3 separate regions of the Homo sapiens genome follow, and all the other regions are linked to region 3. Evidence: promoter capture Hi-C in human tissues and cell types (Jung and others, 2019). All regions are on one chromosome and are shown on one strand. Each heading gives the region's core, a stretch centred on a gene start or on the middle of the fragment in contact. The rest is flanking DNA. Distances are from core to core; before and after follow the strand shown.

Region 1 (2,700 bases), core at 176-2,675, 150 kb before region 3:
TAGATTCAATACAATTACCATCAAAATACCACCATCATTCTTCACAGAACTACACGGAACCAAAAAAGAGCCCACATACCCAAAGCAAGACTAAGCAAAAAGAACAAATCCAGAGGCATCACATTACCTGACCTCAAACTATACTATAAGGCCATAGTCACCAAAACAGCATGGTACTGGTATAAAAATAGTCACATAGACCAGTGGAACAGAATAGAGAACCCAGAAATAAAGCCAAGTATTTACAGCTAATCTTCAACAAAGCAAACAAAAACAAAAGTGGGGAATGGACACTCTATTCAACAAATGGTGCTGGGATAATTGGCAAGTCACATGTAGAAGAATGAAACTGAATCCTCATCTCTCACCTTATACAAAAATCAGCTCAAGATGGATCAAAGACTTAAATCTAAGTTCTGAAACCATAAAAATTCTAGAAAATAACATCAGAAAAACCCTTCTAGACATTGACTTGGGCAAAGACTTCCTGACCAAGAATCCAAAAGCAGGTGCAACAAAAACAAACATAAGAGATGGTATTTAATTAAAAGATAAAGCTTCTGCACAGAAAAAAAAATCAGCAGAGTAAACAGACAACCCACAGAGTGGGAGAAAATCTTCACAATCTATACATCCAACAAATAACTAATATCCAAAATCTTCAAGAAACTCAAACAAATTAGCAAGAAAAACAAACAGTCCCATCAAAAAGTGGGCTAAATACATGAATAGACAATTTTCAAAAGAAGATATACAAATGGCCAACAAGCATATGAAAAAATGCTCAACATCACTAATGATCAGGGAAATGCAAATCAAAACCACAATGTGATACCACCTTACTCCTGCAAGAATGACCATAATAAAAAAATAAAATAAAATAAAATAGATATTGGTGGGGATGTGGTGAAAAGGAAACACTTTTACACTCCTGGTGGGAATGTAAACTAGTACAACCACTATGGAAAATAGTGTGGAGATGCCTTAAATAACTAAAAGTAGAACTACCATTTGATCAGCAATCCCACTACTGGGTATCTACCCACAGGAAAAGAAGTTATTATACAAAAAAGATACTTGCACATGCATGTTTATAGCAGCACAATTCACAATTGCAAAAATATGGAACCAGCCCAAAGGCCCACCAATCAATGAGTGCATAAAAAATTGTGATACACACACACACACACACACACACACACGCACACACCATGGAATACTACTCAGCCATAAGAAGGAACACAATAATGGCATTTGCAGCAATCTGGATAGAATTGGAGACCATTTTTTCTAAGTGAAGTAACTCAGTAATGGAAAACCAAACACTGTATGTTCTCACTCATAGGTGGGAGCTAAGCTATGAGGATACAAAGGCGTAAGAATAATACAATGGACTTTGGGGACTCAGAGGAAATGGTGGGAGTCAGGTGAGGGATAAAAGACTACACGTTTGTTACAGTGTACATTGCTCAGATGATGGGTGCACCAAAATCTCAGAAATCACCACTAAAGAACTTATTCAGGTAACCAAACACCACCTGTTCCCCAAAAACCCATGGAAATAAAAAATAATAATAAATAATAATAATTTAAAAACAGAAAGCAAAATTGGTTATATTAATATCAGAAAAAGTAGGCTTCAGAGCAAAGAAAATTACCAGAGATGAGAGACATTATATAAAGATAAAAGGGTCAATCTACAAGGAAGAAATAGCAATGCTAGATGTGTTTATACTAAAAGACAGAGCTGAAAATTGTGAAGCAAAAACCGATAGAAATAAAAAGATAATTAGACAAATCTACAGTTATATTAGGAGATTTTGACACCCCACTCTCAACAATTGATGGAATGATTATACAGAAAATCAGCTAAGAGAAAGAAGAATTCAACCACACCATCAACAGAATTTGATCCAGTTAGAGTCTAGAGGACATTTATAAAACATTTCACTCAACAAGAGCATTCTATATATTGTTTTTAAATATCTATTGAACATATATCAATCTAGACCAAATAACCTATGCCATAAAACAGACCTCAACAAATTTAAAAGAATCAAAATCATACAAAGTGTCTTCTAGGATCACAACAAAATCAAAATCATATTTAATGGCAGAAAAATCTTCAAATACTTGGAAACTACACAAGGTACTTTTTTTCCCTCCGAGACGGGGTCTTGCTCCGTCACCTAGGCTGGAGTGCGGTGGCGCAATCTCAGCTCACTGCAACCTCCGCCTCCTGGGTTCAAGCAATTCTCCTGCCTCAGCCCCCCTAGTATCTAGGATTATAGGTGCCCACCACCACGCCCAGCTAATTTTTGTATTTTTAGTAGAGACGGAGTTTCACCATGTTGGCCAGGCTGGTCTCAAACTCCTGACCTCGGGTGATCCGCCCGCCTTGTCCTCCCAAAATGCTGGGATTACAGGCATGAGCCACCCCACCTGGCTATACAAGGTATTTCTACTAAGTCCATGAGTCAAAGAGGAGATCTTGAAGGAAATAAAAAACAAATGCATTCAACTGAATGAAGATGAAAATATGACATATCAAAATTTCTAGGATACAGCTAAAGCTGTGTGGAGAGGAAAATTTATAGTACTAAATGCAATGCATACATTTGAAAAGATGCCAGATCAAATGGACATTCATAGATAAAAACATGAACATTAACCTAAGTGTAACACCTTATACAAAAACTA
Region 2 (2,700 bases), core at 126-2,625, 210 kb before region 3:
GCCTCCCAAAGTGCTAGAATTACAGACGTGAGCCACCATGCCCGGCCAGGAGGATGGCCTTCTTAATAATGCCTTGGAAAGCCTTGTTGACACACTGCTGATAGATATTAAGATGGAAATAGAATTTGGAGCAAGGACATTCAAATCAGTAATGCGTCTGGATGGGCAGACCCTAGACCCAGTCCAAGGAGGCCCCCATGTCAGACGTGGAGCCCCATGCTTTGTCCACGAGAGAGGGCCACAGAGCACCATGGTGCCATCAAGGTGGCATCCTCAAAATGCACACACAAGTGATTGTTCTGCACCCAACTCTGAGAGTTACTAAGTTGCCACAGAAATTAGAGACCACAGAACTATGGTGTGATGTTTGTTTTAGGTGTCAACATGACTAGATTAAGGAATACTTAGAGAACTGGTCAAACATCATTTCTGGGTGTGTCTGTGAGGGTGTTTCCAGAGGAGCTTGGGGTGTGAGTCGGAGCACACTGGGTAGGGAAGGTCCACCCTCAATGTGGGTGGGTGCCATCATTGGTTAGGGGCCCGGAGAGAACAAAAACAGAGGAAAGGTGAGTGTCTCCCTCTGTCTGCCGGAGCTGGGACTCTTCCTCCCCTGTCCCTGGACATCAGAACTTCAGGCTCCAGGCCTTTGCACTCTGGGATTCACACCAGCAGTCCCGTAGGTGCTCAGGCCTTCGCCCTCAGATTGAGGATTACACCATCAACTTCTACAGTTCTGAGGCCTTCAGACTTGGCCTGAGCCGTGATACCAGCATCCCAGGGTCTCCAGCTTGCAGGCAATCTGTCATGGGACTTCTCAGCCTCATAATCCTGTGAGCCAATTCCCTTAACAAATCCCCCTCTCATATATCTATATCTATATCTGTCTATATCTATCTCTATATTAACAAATCCCCCTCTCATATACCTATATCTATACCTGTCTATATCTATCTCTATACTAACAAATCCCCCTCTCATATATCTGTATCTATATCTGTCTATGTCTATCTCTATATTAACAAATCCCCCTCTCATATATCTATATCTGTCTATATCTATCTCTATATTAACAAATCCCCCTCTCATATACCTATATCTATACCTGTCTATATCTATCTCTATATTAACAAATCCCCCTCTCATATATCTATATCTATATCTGTCTATATCTATCTCTATATTAACAAATCCCCCTCTCATATATCTATATCTATACCTGTCTATATCTATCTCTATATTAACAAATCCCCCTCTCATATATCTGTATCTGTCTATATCTATCTCTATATTAACAAATCCCCCTCTCATATACCTATATCTATACCTGTCTATATCTATCTCTATATTAACAAATCCCCCTCTCATATATCTATATCTGTATCTGTCTATATCTATCTCTATATTAACAAATCCCCCTCTCATATACCTATATCTGTCTATATCTATCTCTATATTAACAAATCCCCCTCTCATATATCTATATCTATCTTTATATTAACAAATCCCCCTCTCATATATCTATATCTCTACATTAACAAATCCCCCTCTCATATACCTATATCTGTCTATATCTATCTCTATATTAACAAATCCCCCCATATATCTGTATCTATATCTGTCTATATCTATCTCTATATTAACAAATCCCCCTCTCATATACCTATATCTGTATCTGTCTATATCTATCTCTATATCTCCTATTGGTTCTGTCTTTCTGGAAAACTCTGACTAATACCTATGGGTTTGTGGTTTTTTTGCCCTGGACAGGATAGCACTTAAAGAGAAGCAGAAAAGCAATTGAGAACCCAATGTCTTGGGGATACTTTTTGGTGTAAGTGCATTGTAGACACAGCCCTTTAAGGGGTCTAACATTTTTCTGGGATCCAAGTGCATCTTGGTACCATCCCCTCAAGATCAAGAAGAGAGCCTGAGTGTGGCAACAAGACTCTGCCATGCACGCTGAGGATCCTGATGGCCAAAGTGGACTCCAGAATTACACACAATATGCCCCAGAAGTGATGAATGCACTCAGGTCATCTCTGAGAACTGGGCCCTTAAATGACATATAGCAAGTAGCCCCAACAGTTGACTTCCCTGTCTGGGGCCGCGACTGTGAGCGCCCTGAGGGCAAGGCCATGGTCTGATTCTAACTTGCTCTTGATGTCTGCCCTGATGCCTGACACAGGCCAACAATCAGAAGTATGCTCTGAATTTTATAAAACGAAGTCTTCTCATTCTTTCTCTATTGGTCTTGGTAACAGCACCAATTTGAGCCCACTGGTTATTTCAACTTAAACTGTTGCTATCATGAAGCAATGCCTGCTGACCTCAAGCTCCCTGAGCGACCCTGTGTCCTATTCTTCCCAACCCAGTAGACCAGGCAGGAGGGACCCTACAGGGCCTAGCTGGGTATCTGGAGTGCCCTGGGGTCCTGGTACCCAAATGTCTCCATACACACTCCTGGCCCAAGATGTGCAGATGTTTTCAGAGGTGACCAAGCCTCTGAACCTGGCGGTTCTCTGTGGCCACAGGCTATGTCCAGCCACCCTGGAGAGCTAGGCCAGCCAGAGGAAGAAGAGAGGGCTTGGTCCGCTCTCTCCTTATCTCTCCCAGAGGAGCAGAGGTGAGGGCAATGAAGGACAAAGCGGGCCACTCTGGCAGGCAGTTACACACACGGCCAGGGTAGAAGCACCCCCTCCA
Region 3 (2,700 bases), core at 161-2,660:
CCAGTGTGGTTTGGGGATATCCAATAAAAGATGGCCCCTCCTCAAAGTTAGTGGATGCTAGGCTCTGGGATGCAGGGGAGGGTTCTGGGCTTGCTATTGAGGTTTCCCTGGAGGTTGATGTCACTGGGGGCATGGAGATTACTCAGGCCAGAAGGTGTGTGGGAAGCATGGGGTGTGGGGTACAGAGTACACCACATGGAGAGCCAACATCAGGGGGATTCCCAAGGGAGAAAGACAAGCCAGGGATCATCCAAGGAGGCAAGACGGGAGGAGTGCAGGGATCTGTGGACCCACCCAGCCCCTTCTGTTCTGAGGTTACAATGGGTGATGGCTCTGTGGGGCTGCAATGAGTGGCGGCACGCGCGGAGGGCCAGGGGAGGAGGGACATGCTGTGGGCTCCGGGTTCAGGTCCCAGGACTGAATTGGAAGCACCCTGTCTGTGTTGAAGTTCAAGATCTACCACTTCTGTTCCCAGACCTCCCAGTTCTTCCTCACCTTTATGCAATTTCATTTTTGATAATTTCAGCTTCCTAAATGTACACATCTGACTTCACTTTCACTCACATGTCTCACCCCCACCCCTCCACCGGCCCCTTCTATTACAGACCCAGGAGACACAGGAAGTGCAAGGAAGGTCTGGAGCCCCAAAAGCCAGGAGCCTCAGGAGTCAGGTGTCCTGACAGCCAGGAACCCTGACACCCAGGAGCCCTGGCACCCAGGAACCCCAACAGCCAGAAGCCTCTACCACCAGGAGCCCTGACAGCAAGGAACCCCGACACCCAGGAGCCCCTACTACAGCCAGGAAGCCAGGAACCCTAACACCAGGAGCCCTGACACCCAGTCACCCCGACAGCCAGGAAGCCAACAGCAAGAAGCCTCTACCACCAGGAGCCCTGACAGCAAGGAACCCCGACACCCAGGAGCCCCTGCTATAGCCAGGAACCCTAACACCCAGGAGCCCCTACAGTCAGGAACCCCGACACCCAGGGGTCCCGACAGCCAGGAACCCCGACACCCAGGGGTCCCGACAGCCAGGGGCCATTACGGCCAGGAGCCCCGACAGCCAGGGACCTCGACGGCCAGAATCCACTACATCCAGAAGCCCTTATAACCGGGAACCTCCATAGCCAGGAGCCCCTACAGCCAGGAGCCCCTTCAGCCAGGGAGCCCCGAAAGCCAGGAGCCCCGACAGCCAGGAACCATAACAGCCATGAACCCCGGGAGCCAGGAGGCCCGCAGCGGAGTGCCCAGACTTGGCAGGGTCAGAGCCCCCCAGCGGGATCCAGAGCCCGCCGCCGAGGCCCCTTTTGGGATTTCTCAGGCTCGGCAGCCTCAGCGCAGGCAGGGGCGGGGCTTTCCCTCGCGCAGCCGCTCAGCTCCCCGTGGCCCCGCCCACATCCGGCCGCCGGCACTGGATTGCTTCTGTCTGGCGGCGGCAGCATGGCGGCGGGGGCGGCTGAGGCAGCTGTAGCGGCCGTGGAGGAGGTCGGCTCAGCCGGGCAGTTTGAGGAGCTGCTGCGCCTCAAAGCCAAGTAAGCGGGGCGGCGAGCGGTAGGAGTGAGGAGCCGGAGCGGGAGCGGCCGCGAGACCGGGCCGGTGTGGGGCGGCGGGTGGCCCAGCCTGGCTTCTTGGTGCCCGGCTCCCTTCGGCCTCGGGGGACCGGGCCCGGCGCCACCCGTAGACTCCCCCGAGCCTCCGCGTGAGTGGCCCGAGCCGCAGGTTCCCCGCCCCGGAACAGCGAGCAGGGCGCGAGGCTCGCCTGGAAGCCCCGGCCCCAGCCCTGGCTCCGACCCCGACGGCTGTCCAAGCCCGGGGGACGCGACCTTCCCGGCCTCTGGCCTGGGCGGCCCCGCCGCGGGACGGAGGCGGTGGTGACTCAGCCGTGCCGCAGTGGCGGGGCGGGGGACGGGGCGGCGCCGAGACCCCGGCCCTCCGCGCCACGGAGCGGGACCCACGGCTGCGGGCTCCACCTTTCCTGTGCCCGCCGGGAGGGAGCGGCAGGCTCGGCGTCGGCCCATTGCTCTTCAGCCTCCCTTCAGGAACGCCCCTGTCGCAGGAAGAGCGGCGAGGGAAGGCCCCGTTGCATTAGCTAGGCCTGGCTGCCTTTTGAAGTCAGCCTTTAAAGTTTGTTGGACAGCAGGTAGCCTCAGTCTTCAGACTTAACCTGTTGCCGGAGACAGAGATTTCCTGTTCCATGAACTGGTGTAGTGAGAGTCTGTTCAGATTTGGCGCCGGTGTCCAGGTCTTCAATCCCTGGGAAGACTACAAAAGGAGATCCAGAGGAATGCATAGAAAGCGTTTTCTGGGTGGACTAGAAGCTCTGAACTGCAAGCATGCTTACGAGTAAATGCTTACTAGCGTGCGTGCCTGCAGGGAAAGGTCTGCACGTGGACTCTCCGTGATAATACCACCTCACATTGTAGACTACTCCAAGGACTGAGTTGTTCTCTTAGTTGTATTATTAGCGGTTGTTATGGGAACTCTTATGTCGGATTGCCTGGGATCCAGTCCCACCGCAGCCACTCAGTAGCCATGTAACCCCTGGGCACGTTTCATGCCCAAGCCTCAGTTTCCCGACGGTGACATAGATTAGCACCTGTTAGTACCTCAGGGTTGTTGTGAGGGTTAAATGAGATGACGTATGTAAAATACAAATAATACAATGCCTAGTATGCAGGAAGCACTCAGTAGATGTTGGCA

The links. Contacts are between HindIII fragments. The study calls those that stand out against the background at their distance.
Region 1: a fragment that was not itself captured here is called in contact with the fragment with the promoter of GLRX3 in region 3 in 1 of the 25 tissues and cell types used here (mesendoderm cells).
Region 2: a fragment that was not itself captured here is called in contact with the fragment with the promoter of GLRX3 in region 3 in 1 of the 25 tissues and cell types used here (H1 embryonic stem cells).

The regions. Positions count from the first base shown.
Region 1 is chr10:129,988,414-129,991,113 of GRCh38, forward strand. No RefSeq gene overlaps it. Among named protein-coding and RNA genes, the nearest start is that of EBF3, 25 kb to the left of the region's middle. The HindIII fragment of the contact is 5,652 bases long and covers 1-2,700 here.
Region 2 is chr10:129,929,459-129,932,158 of GRCh38, forward strand. All of the region lies in intron 6 of EBF3 (EBF transcription factor 3), which reads right to left. Among named protein-coding and RNA genes, the nearest start is that of EBF3, 33 kb to the right of the region's middle. The HindIII fragment of the contact is 4,939 bases long and covers 1-2,700 here.
Region 3 is chr10:130,134,981-130,137,680 of GRCh38, forward strand. It overlaps GLRX3 (glutaredoxin 3), which reads left to right and starts at 1,411. Exons shown (of 11, transcript NM_006541.5): 1 at 1,411-1,532. The coding sequence starts at 1,441. LOC105378561 (a long non-coding RNA gene) reads right to left here and starts at 1,391. Exons shown (of 6, transcript XR_001747659.2): 1 at 1-1,391. RefSeq lists a silencer at 1,393-1,992 and enhancers at 2,193-2,242, 2,521-2,700. The HindIII fragment of the contact is 8,385 bases long and covers 1-2,700 here.